3 separate regions of the Homo sapiens genome follow, and regions 1 and 2 are each linked to region 3. Evidence: promoter capture Hi-C in human tissues and cell types (Jung and others, 2019). All regions are on one chromosome and are shown on one strand. The core of a region is centred on a gene start or on the middle of the fragment in contact, and the rest is flanking DNA. Distances in the headings are between cores, read along the strand shown. Region 1 has its middle 43 kb from the start of ZFP42. Region 2 overlaps LOC124900881 (a long non-coding RNA gene). Region 3 holds the start of ZFP42 (ZFP42 zinc finger protein).

Region 1 (3,577 bases), core at 453-2,952, 43 kb after region 3:
AAAGTGAACATAAATTGAGTATAAAAGGTAATTCATAATGAAGAGCTAAATTGTGTTGTGAAGACTGAGGATGTTACAGTTCAAAGCACTGAGGGCTAGAGCAGCAAAGACGGCTTCGTTTGTAGTGAAGTGCCTTCAACCACTCCTCACCCCAGTTGCCTGCTTCGTAGGCATACCTCTTCAGGAAAATCACTAATTTATACTCTCCAAGAATACATGAGTGTGCTACAAAGAAAAAAAATTAATGGTAAAAATATTTATAGAAAAAATCGTTTGAAGTGAATTATTATACATTTTTTAGATGTGATGATGGCATTGTGATCATGTTTCCGAATTTTCCTTATCTATTAGATAAATAAAATAGTTCTTCATGATATGAAATGTCGAAAATTTTCTTCAAAATACTCCAAAAATAAGTTTCCTGGCACAACTTTTAACTTTGCCAAGCGCAATGACTCATGCCTGTAATCTCAGCACTTTGGGAGGCCGAGGCGGGCCAATTACTTGAGCCCAGAAGTTTGAGATGAGCCTGGGCAACATAGTGAGAGACTGTTTTTACAAAAGTAAAAAATATATTTAAAAAAATAAAATACTAGGTGGATGTGGTGGCGCATGCCTGTAGTCTCAGCTACTCAGGAGGCGAAGGTGGGAAGATTGCTTGAGCCCAGAAGGTCGAGGCTGCAATAAGCCCTCCAGCCTGGGTGACACAGCAAGACCCTGTCTCAAAAAAAAAAAAAAAAAAAAAAAAGAAAAAAAAAAAAAGAAAAAAAGTAAAAAGAAAAGATAAGCTTAACAAAAAAGAAAAGAAACTTTTAACCTTTAGGTTGATTAAATTTCTACGAGATTTTCTGATTTTTCTCATGGGCTAATAGTCATGAGAGGTTAGAGGTTTATGATAAGAATTTTTTTTTTTTTTGAGACTGAGTCTCACTCTGTAGCCAGGCTGGAGTGCAGTGGCGTGATCTCAGCTCACTGCAACCTCCGCCTCCCAGGTTCAAGCGATTCTCCTACCTCAGCCTCCTGAGTAGCTGGGACTACAGGCACCCACCACCACGCCCGGCTAAATTTTTGTATTTTTAGTAGAGATGGGTTTTTGCCATGTTGGCCAGGCTGGTCTCAAACTCCTGACCTCAGGTGATCTGCTCGCGTTGGCCTCCCAAAGTGCTGGGATTAATACTATCAAATTGCCTTTTTGTTTTGCTAATATTTAATACTCATGATAAAAAGATTTTAGACTGTAGCAGGTTTTTCTTTTTAACCCTGGTTATATTATTTGGCATGATTCAGATGTTGAAGTAGCCTCAATTTTAAAATTCTGCCAGGCGTGAAAAGGCATCCGCCCTCTAGCTTACTTTACCTGGCCACTGCTTGTATAGCTTACGAGGTTTAATCTTGTCATTTCTGGTTGAGAGAAGCAGATTTTCACCCACATGTAGGGTTTTAGCTATGTTTGTTTTTTCTAAACAGAGCCAACTGTTAATTAATTTCTAAGAGTAGGTAATACATGCATGCACCCATTACAAAAGTAGAAAAACAAAATGATTTACAATGCAAAGCAAATCTCCCTCTCATACCAAGCCCCCAGCTACCCAGGCTCCAGCCTGCTCACTTAACTTTGGTCAATTGAGATCAGTTTACACTCCTTCATTGTTTCATAACCTCTTGGAAAGTTCTCGTAACAGGAAAATGTGGCTGCATTTTCAATTCTGACCTGTTTCTCTAAATAGATCACATTCTCTAATCTTTCTATGACTTTTCTTTCTTTCTTTTTTTTTTTTGAGACAGAGTCTCGCTCTGTTGCCAGGCTGGAGAGCAGTGACACGATCTCAGTTCACTGCAACCTCCGCCTCCTGGGTTCAAGCGACTCTCCTGCCTCAGCCTCATGAGTCACTGGGATTACAGGCACGTGCCACCATGCCCGGCTAATTTTTTGTATTTTTAGTAGAGACAGGGTTTCACCATGTTGGCCAGGATGGTCTTGATCGCTGGACCTCCTGATTTGCCCACCTCAGCCTCCCAAAGTGCTGGGATTACAGGCGTGAGCCACCGCATCCAGCCAACTTTTCTTAATTTAAGATGGACTTCTATCTCACTGTGTAAGTAAAGCTCAAGGCATCATTTATTCTTTTAATATTCACTTCCTCTCACTTCTACAGGATGTAAACTGTCTCAACTCTTTTTCTTCGTTTGTAAGCTGTGATCGTTTCTTAATTTGTTTTATTATTTTTATTGCCTTCTCTGTTTTCCTAAAATAGTTTCTAAATTTTAAATGAACTTTTAATTTTAGAAAAGTTTTAGATTTACAGCAAAGATGAAAAGATAACACACCCTCACTCCCAATTTCCTGCATTGTTAACGTTGTACATTATGATGGTATATTTGTTACAACTCAAGACCAACACTGACGTATTATTATTGACTAAACCCCACACTTTATTTCATTTTACTAGTCTTCCCTTCTATCCTTTTTCTGTTCCAGGAGGCCATCAGGATCCCACATTACATTTAGATATGTGTCTCCTTACATTCCTCTAGTTTATGACAATTTCTCAGACTTCCCATTTTGATAACCCTGGCAGTTTCAGGAGTACTGGCCAGGCCCCTATACAAAGTTCTTCCATCTTGGTTTGATGTTTTTATGAATAGACTGAGGTTATGGGTGATTGGGGAGAATATCACAACACTGAAGTAGCATTCTTTTTTTTTTTTTTTGAGACGGAGTCTCGCTCTGTCGCCAGGCTGGAGTGCAATGGCGCCACCTCAGCTCACTGTAACCTCCACCTCCTGGGTTCAAGTGATTCTCCTGCCTCAGCCTCTGGAGTAGCTGTGGACCACCACGCCCAGCTAGTTTTTGTATTTTTAGTAGAGATGGGGTATCACTATGTTGGCCAGGCTGGTCTCGAACTCCTGACCTTGTGATCCGCCTGCCTCGGCCTCCCAAAGTGCTGGGATTACAGGCATGAGCCACCGCGCCCGGCCTGAATATGATATGATTCTTACCATATCATATCCGGGTGCATGCCATCAACCTGACTCTTCCCTGATGCAATTAACACCTTGACTGCCTGGCTGAGGACTGCTTGTCAGGCTTCCCCCTGAAAAATTACCACTCCTCCACCTCTTTTCCATAGTCTTGAAACAAGCTGCTGGCATCACCTACACTTAGGGTAGAGAGGAATTCAGCTCCACCTCATCGAGGGGGGAAATATTTACATACATTATTTGGAATTCCCTATGGGAGATTTGTCTCTTCTTCACTATTCATATGCTAGATTTTCTGTGTATTACAGGGTTCTTTTTATACAGCAATTACCAAAAAAAAAAAAAAAAAAAAAAACCTGCCTACTGCCTACATATAAACATTTTTATCTGAGATATTTCCATTATACCTCTAAATGAAGAAAGTAAATGCTAACAGTTGTTAACTGATAATTTGTTCAACAAATATGCATTAGGTTTGGCGAGATGGTTTATGTCTGTAACCCCAGCACTTTGGGAGGCTTAGGTGGGAGGACTGCTTGAGCTCAGGAGTCTGAGACCAGTCTGGGCAACATAGAAAGATCCCTGTCTCTACAGA
Region 2 (4,011 bases), core at 1,161-3,660, 42 kb before region 3:
ATACTCCCATTCCAGTAGGAAGAAATTGGCCAAAAGAAAGAAGCCACAGGCCCCATGCAAGTCTGAAACCCAACAGTCATTAACTCTTACAGCTCCAAAATCGTCTCCTTTGATTCTATCCCTCACATCCAGGGCACACTGATGCTAGGGGTGGGCTCCCAAGGCTTTGGGCATTTAACTTCTAAAGCTCCATATCTAAAATTAAAGATGAATGGATAACTTTTTACTATATTAGTTTTTATTCTTAATGTATTTCTCTTTTTGTGTTTTGTTTTGTTTTGTTTGAGACAGGATCTCGCTCTGTCACCATGGATGGAGTGCAATGACATGATCTCAGCTGTCTGCACCCTCCACCTCCCGGGCTCAAGCAATCTTCCTGCCTCAGCCTGTCCCAAGTAGCTGGGACACAGGGCACACCACCATGCCCAGCTAATTTTTTGTATTTTTTGTAGAGACAGGGTTTCACCATCTTGCCCAGGCTGGGCTCAAACCGTTAGGATCAAGCAATCCACCTGCCTTGGCCTCCCAAAGTGCTGAGATTACAAGCGTGCCATCTCTCCTGGCCCTAATTTCTCTTTATAAAATCAGATTTTGTTGGAAGTATCCTGTTTGCTAAAACCTTGATATCTGATGCACTTAGCATAGAAATCAGGCTGGAAAAACGAATTTGTAATAGATATCTAAAACTAAAAAATGTAAGAGTCAGAAGCTTAAATTTTTACCTCTTTTTGGACGGATGTTTTTCTAAAATAAACATTTTCCTGCCTTTTCAAGTAAAAACATTGACAATAATAAAAATGTCCCTTAATCATCCTGAATCATTAGATATTAGTTTTATTCTTCATGTAATTGACTCAGTGGTGTTTAGGACTAGTGGTCTCTAACTTCAACAAGTGTGGGATGGTCCATGGCGTGAAAAGAGGGATAGGGTTTGTCTGACCCTCTCTAGTGGGGATGACCCACGGCCTTTGCTGATGCCTGAAGCCTACAGCAAGGCAATGTGTACAAACAGTGGCTTCACCTTCCAGAACATTTTCTTTCTCTCTGTTCTTAGTAGTTTTGACTTGTCCACACCATTCAAGCTAAGTGTCCTTTATAACAATAAAGTTGAAACTAGCAAAAACGTCCAACTCTGTGTGGTTCATTAAATACTATACTGTTGTGAGCAAGGATGTAATTTTTGTCAGGGATGGGCTTCCCCCATGCCCCCTCTAAGATTACATAATACCCAAAATTACATAAGATTACACCTAAGATTACATAATACCCAAAAGAAAGGGTAGCCCTAAAATAGTGATGCTGAGGAGATACTAGTTACATGAAAAATGATCACAAAAACAATAAGAACTCACATGACAGATTTTTCACTTTTAAAAATGTATTTTACATAATAGTTTGATATAAATACATTCTATGGGAGAATAATATATATATTTATATCAAATATTTAACGTCTAGATTTTTTTAAGTTAAAATAACCTCCTTGAGCACCCAGTTACACTTTCTTTCCTTCCATATCTTCTTTCGATTCCACTTCCCTGACCATATGTGAGCACTGTTTGTGCTTTCCAAACATTTTCCTAGACATCAGCACACACACACACACACACACACACACACACAGTTCAAATATAAAATGCTGCTTTTTCCAAAAATGTGATCATATCCTATTAAATGACCTGCCTTTTTTCCACTTATCTGTGAAAACTTTTTATGTCAATACATATATATATGCATTATATATATGCATTTTATACACACACACACACACACACACACACATATATATCTGCCTCGGTCTTTTTAATTGCTGTGGTGTATTACATATCATGTGTACCATAATTTTTTTTTTGAGATAGAGTCTCGCTCTGTCACCCAAGCTGGAGTGCAGTGGCATGATCTCAGCTCATTGCAGCCTCTTCCTCAAGTTCAAGTGATTCTCCTGCCTCAGCCTCCCAAGTAGCTGGGATTACAGGCTTCTGCCACCATGCCCAGCTAATTTTTATTTTTAGTAGAGATGGGGTTTCGCCACGCCGGCCAGGCTGGTCTCGAACTCTTGACCTCAAGTGATCTGCCTGCCTCGGCCTCCCAAAGTGCTGGGATTACAGGAGTGAGCCACCGCCCCCAGCCTTCAGACAGTATATATTTTTGTTAAATCCAATTCTTCACTGTTAAAGAATACTATTTTACATTAATCTTTGTATATACATGTGACTATAATGAATATCCTTTGTACATAATATGTGCTCTTTCTCCCTACTCATACGTAAAATTACTGGGTGAAAGGTTACATTATATTTAAATCTGACATATACTTGCAAATGCCCCACCAAAAAAGCCCTGAAATTTGAATTCCCACTATCAGTTTTTGAAAGTTCCTATTCTCTTACCTCTTCCTCCATGCTGAATATTATCAGTCTTTTTCATTTGTCCTCATCTCATGAATAAAAATTACATTTGTCTTAATTTAATCTGCCTTATTAACTAGTTTTATGTGATACTAAGTATAATTTTCTGTCATTACATGTTTTCTATCAGATTTGTTATCTTTTATTGATCTTTATGTGCTTGATATTATCATAGAGATTAATGCTGTATTGTAAATAATTTTCCCATGATTTTTCATTGTACTTTTTCATGTGGGTTTTTGACATAGATGCTTTAGATTTTTATATAGACATATCTGTCATTTTTTTCTTTATGAATTCTTAGCCTATGTTTAGCATAGATTTTTCCAATGTTGAGATTAAAAATATTTTCTATTCTCATGAAATTTCCTTTAACATTGTTATAATTTTGTAATCTATTTTTATCTCTATAATTCATCTGTAGTTTTTCTGGTTTGAGGTGGGAATCTACCCTTAATTTTTTGTTTGTGTCAATTGATAACCAGTAGTCTCAATCATAACCTTTCCTTATTGACTTGAAATATAATGCGTAACAGCTGCCAAAATGTATAGGTCTATACCAATTTTCTTCTAGACTTTCTATTGTCTTCCTTTCATTTATTTATTAATTTTTGTACCAATGCTGCAGTATTTTAATTATGTTTGTCTTGCAGCATATTCTAATCTCTGGTAGGACCTTTCCTTTTACTATTTAATTTTTTTACTTTTACCTCCCACCTCAACGTCCTGAGTAGCTGAGACTACAGGCATATGCCACAACACCTGGCTAGTTTTGTTTGTTTGTTTCGAGCTCCTGTAAAAATAATAACTATTATTTATTGGAAAATCTCTACACCTCAGGGACTATGTGAAGCATTTTTACATGAACTATTTTATTTAATCCTCATAATGGCCCTCTGAGAAAGTGTAATGAGTTGAATGATGGCCACTCAGAGGATATGTCCATGTCCTAACTGCTAGAACCTGTGGACGTGACTTTTGTTGGGAAAAGAGTCTGATGATGCAATTAAGGATTTCAAGATCATATCATCCTGGATTATCCAGGTGGATCTTAAATCCAATGACAGTTGTCCTTATAAGAGAAAGTCAGAAGGAGATTTGATGCAGAGGTGATTGTGTATTTAGAAACCCCATCGTCTCAACCCAAAATCTCCTTAAGCTGATAAGCAACTTCAGCAAAGTCTCAGGATACAAAATCAATGTGCAAAAATCACAAGCATTCCTATACACCAATAACAGACAGGGAGCCAAATCATGAGTAAACTCCCATTCACAATCGCTATAAAGAGAATAAAATACCTAGGAATCCAACTTACAAGGGATGTGAAGGACTTCTTCAAGGAGCACTACAAACCACTGCTCAACGAAATAAAAGAGGACACAAACAAATAGAAGAACATTCCATGCTCTTGGATAGGAAGACTCAATATCGTGAAAATGGCCATAGTGCCCAAGGTAATTTATAGATTCAATGCCATCCCCATCAAGCTACCAATGACTTTCTTCACAGAATTGAAAAAAACTACTTTAAAGTTCATACGGAACCAAAAAAGAGCCCACATTGCCAAGACAATCCTAAGCCAAAAGAACAAAGCTGGAGGCA
Region 3 (3,660 bases), core at 416-2,915:
GTCTGCAAATAATACATTCTAAGGTAAGGAACTAAGGAAGCTTTATTGAAATCGGATTTCAAATGGAGAGGTCCTGCTATGCCTACTGGAGGAGATCAGGGAATAATAAATATTTCCTTCATTGAAAATTATATCCTATTGGCCAGGCGCAGTGGCTCACGCCTGTAATCCCAACACTTTGGGAGGCCGAGACAGGCGGATCACCTGAGGTCGGACCAGCCTGCCAACATGGAGAAACCCTGTCTCTACTAAAAATACTAAATTAGCCGTGCGTGGTGGTGCATGCCTGTAATCCCAGCTACTGGGGAGGCTGAGGCAGGAGAATCACTTGAACCAAATAGGCGGAGGTTGCAGTGAGGTGAGACGGTGCCACTGCACTCCAGCCTGGGGGACAGAGAAAGACTCCGTCTCAAAAAAGAAAAAAAAAGAGAAAGAAAAGAAAGGAAGGAAGGAAGGAAGGAAGGAAGGAAGGAAGGAAGGAAGGAAGGAAGGAAGGAAAATTATATTTTATTGGCCAACCTCAAAATTGAAGCTTATTCAGAAACAGATTTAAAAAAAGAAAAAAGTGGAGAACTGCTCCCAGATATATATGCAGAAAAGCTTCAAGTCAACATTTAGGAGGTTTTTAAATATCGATCTGGGTTTCGTTCTAATGGTCTGGGTGTACTTATACGACCTATTACATTTCACTAGACTGTAGCCAATAGTGAGCGTTGACTGACCATTGCTTTCAAAGTGAGTTGTGTTGCCTTTAGCAATACAGTCACATTAATGGCCAGAAAAAGAAAAAAGAAAACAAACACTGGGGGTGTTTGAAACAACTGGGGGTAGGGTGGGGTGGGAAAGGTGTGGGGGTTTGCGTTCGAGTCAACCTCTATTTCGGGGGGTAAAAACTGCCTCCTCCGCTTGATTTTTTTCCTCGATCTGCAAAAGCGTAAATGTTTTGTTTTGTTCTATTGAGATGGAGCCTCGCTCTATCACCCAGGCTGGAGCTTAGTGGCGCGATCTCGGCTCACTGCAACCTCCGCATCCCGGGTTCAAGCGATTCTCCTGCCTCAGCCTCCTGAGTAGCTGGGATTACAGGCGAGCACCACCATGCCTGGCTAATTTTTGTATTTTTCGGTAGAGACGGGGTTTCGCCATGTTGGCCAGGCTGGTCTCGAACGCTTGACCTCATGTGATCCCCCCGTCTCGGCCTCCCAAAGTGCTGGGACGACAGGCGTGAGCCACCGCGTCCGGCCTAAAAGGGTAAATGTGATTACACCCACGCGTATTTGTTCAACAGACATTTATTGAGCGCTCACCACGTGCCAACGCCGGGCGTCTGGGCTCTGGAGGCGCTGCCACGTGGCGGATGCGCAGTGCCCGGCGGCCGGGCTGAGGGGTGAACGCGGGGGTCAGGGGGCCCCGGGCTGAGGGTTTGCGTGCGGGCCGGGTGCCTGGGGGCCCCGGGCTGAGGGTGAGCGCGCCGCCCAGGTGCCAGGCGGCTCCGGGCAGAGAGTGAACGCGCGGGCCAGGTGGCTCCAGGGCGGCGCCCCAGGGCGGGGCCGGCCACGCCCTCCCTAACCCTGGCGGAGCTGATGGGTGGCTGTAGCCTGATTAGACCGCGTCAGTCCGGAGGGTGGGTCTTGGGAGGGGGCGCAGGGCAGTCCACGTTTCCACTGCAGTTTCTCCTTTGTTTTACGTTTGGGAGGAGGTGGCATTGGAAATAGCAGAGTGCTTCGCGGTAACAGGGGTGAGTCTTGTTTCATGGAACTTTTTTCAAATGGGGAGAAGGGGGTTGTGTTGCTCACTACTTGGAATGTGTCGGTCAAAGGGGTTAGATAGTCAGGGAGGGGAAGCGTGTTCTCATCCTGGGACCAGGCCGGAGCCGGCCTCGCCGGGAGACTTGTAGCCCTCGCCCTGCGGTGACCCGTGGCTGGCCACTGGCCTCAAATGTTGAAAACGGGCAGATGGGCAAGTAATACACTCTCAAGAAAGCAAGTGTCTGGCGGTGATTTCCTAAATTGCATTTTTTATTTTATTTCAAAACTTCATGTAAATATGTTTCCTTACAATATCTGGCTAAGTCTTTTCTATATTAACATGCTTACATTGTGATCAAGACACCAGTCTCTTCCCTTTCTTTTCCTCTCCTCTTATCTCTGGAGATGGCAATACCCCCAACTCAAATTACTCTAGCAAAAAACCTAGGAGACTCTTTCTTTTCTTTTTTCTTTTTTTTTGGAGACAGTCTCGCTCTGTTGCCAGGCTGGAGTGCAATGGCGCGATCTCGGCTCACTGCAACCTCCGTCTCCCGGGTTCAAGGGATTCTCCTGCCTCAGCCTCCCAAGTAGCTGAGATTACAGGCGCCCTTCACTGCGCCCGGCTAATTTTTGTATTTTAGTAGAGACGGGGTTTCACCATGTTGGTCAGGCTGGTCTCGAACTCGTGACCTCAGATGATCCGCCCGCCTCAGCCTCCCAAAGTGCTGAGATTACAGGCGTGAGCCACCGCGCCGGGCGAGACTCATTCTTGATTCCTGTTTCCCTTCCGCTCTTCATCCAATCCACCGGCGAGCTGCAGGGCGAGGGGGTGGTTCTTTCTCCTGTTTTCCCGCTCTCCCTGCATTTCATCTCCTCTGCCGCCATCTGCTCCAAACCCCTGGCAGCCCTTCGCGGGATTCCCAAATCTAATAGATTTTTCTGTTCTCCCCAAATCCATTCTCCATGCAGCTGTCCGGCCCATCTTCTAACCTAAAAAAACTTGCTGTTTGCTTGTTGGAAGCCCTGTAATGGTTTCCTTGGGACCTGGGATGAAATGCAAATGGTCCCGGGGCTCACCGTCAGCCCCGCGCCTGGGCCTCGCCCCAGCCCCCACCTTCCTGCCCGCCATAGCTGTAGGGAGCATGGAGCATGGAGCGTGGAGCGTGGAGCATGGAGCATGGAGCGTGGAGCATGGAGCATGGCCTGCAGCCCCCGGGGAGCGCCGGCAGCCTGGAACCAGCAGGCTTCGCTCGTCTCTTCCCACCCCCGTGCACTTTTCCTCCTGCCCACATCTGGCTCCGATGGCCCCCTCCTTGGGGGCCTTTTCCAGACATTCATGATGAAGGTGGCGTCCTCGGTTACTTCCCCTCTCATATTCTTTTTTTTTTTTTTTTTTTTTTGAGACAGAGTTTTGCTCTTGTCGCTTGGGCTGGAGTGCAGTGGCACGATCTCGGCTCACTGCAACCTCCGCCTCCTAGGTTCAAGCGATTCTCCTGCCTCGGCCTCCCGAGTAGCTGGGACTACAGGCGCCCGCCACCACGCCCGACTAATTTTTTTTATTTTTAATAGGGTTTCACCATGTTGGCCAGGATGGTCTCGATCTCCTGACCTCGTGATCCGCCCGCCTCGGCCTCCCAAAGTGGTGGGATTACAAGCGTGAGCCACCGCTCCCGGTCCCACCCCGCCCCGACCTTTTTTTTAATAGCATTTTTCTCAATCTGACATTTTTTGTTTATTTGCCCTTTACTGTCTGTCCCACACCAAACTTTGTGTTAACGAGGAACTTTGCATCTTTTTCCCTAAGTTCAGCACCTAGAACGAATACTAAATGTATATGAAGATTTCGTCCACATCCGCTTTTACCAGTATGTTTTCCATGTACAGTCAAGTTCCATATAAGGCCGTTTCAGTCAGT

The links. The method cuts DNA at HindIII sites, captures the fragments that hold promoters and counts their contacts. A contact is called where the count stands out against the background at its distance.
Region 1: a fragment that was not itself captured here is called in contact with the fragment with the promoter of ZFP42 in region 3 in 2 of the 25 tissues and cell types used here (pancreas and small bowel).
Region 2: a contact is called between a fragment that was not itself captured here and the fragment with the promoter of ZFP42 in region 3, in 1 of the 25 tissues and cell types used here (pancreas).

The regions. Positions count from the first base shown.
Region 1 is chr4:188,037,034-188,040,610 of GRCh38, forward strand. No RefSeq gene overlaps it. Among named protein-coding and RNA genes, the nearest start is that of ZFP42, 43 kb to the left of the region's middle. The HindIII fragment of the contact is 5,516 bases long and covers 1-3,577 here.
Region 2 is chr4:187,951,267-187,955,277 of GRCh38, forward strand. All of the region lies in intron 2 of LOC124900881 (a long non-coding RNA gene), which reads right to left. Among named protein-coding and RNA genes, the nearest start is that of ZFP42, 42 kb to the right of the region's middle. The HindIII fragment of the contact is 8,612 bases long and covers 1-4,011 here.
Region 3 is chr4:187,994,106-187,997,765 of GRCh38, forward strand. ZFP42 (ZFP42 zinc finger protein) reads left to right here and starts at 1,666. Exons shown (of 4, transcript NM_174900.5): 1 at 1,666-1,735. RefSeq lists enhancers at 854-1,833, 1,834-2,815, 2,430-2,724. The HindIII fragment of the contact is 6,716 bases long and covers 287-3,660 here.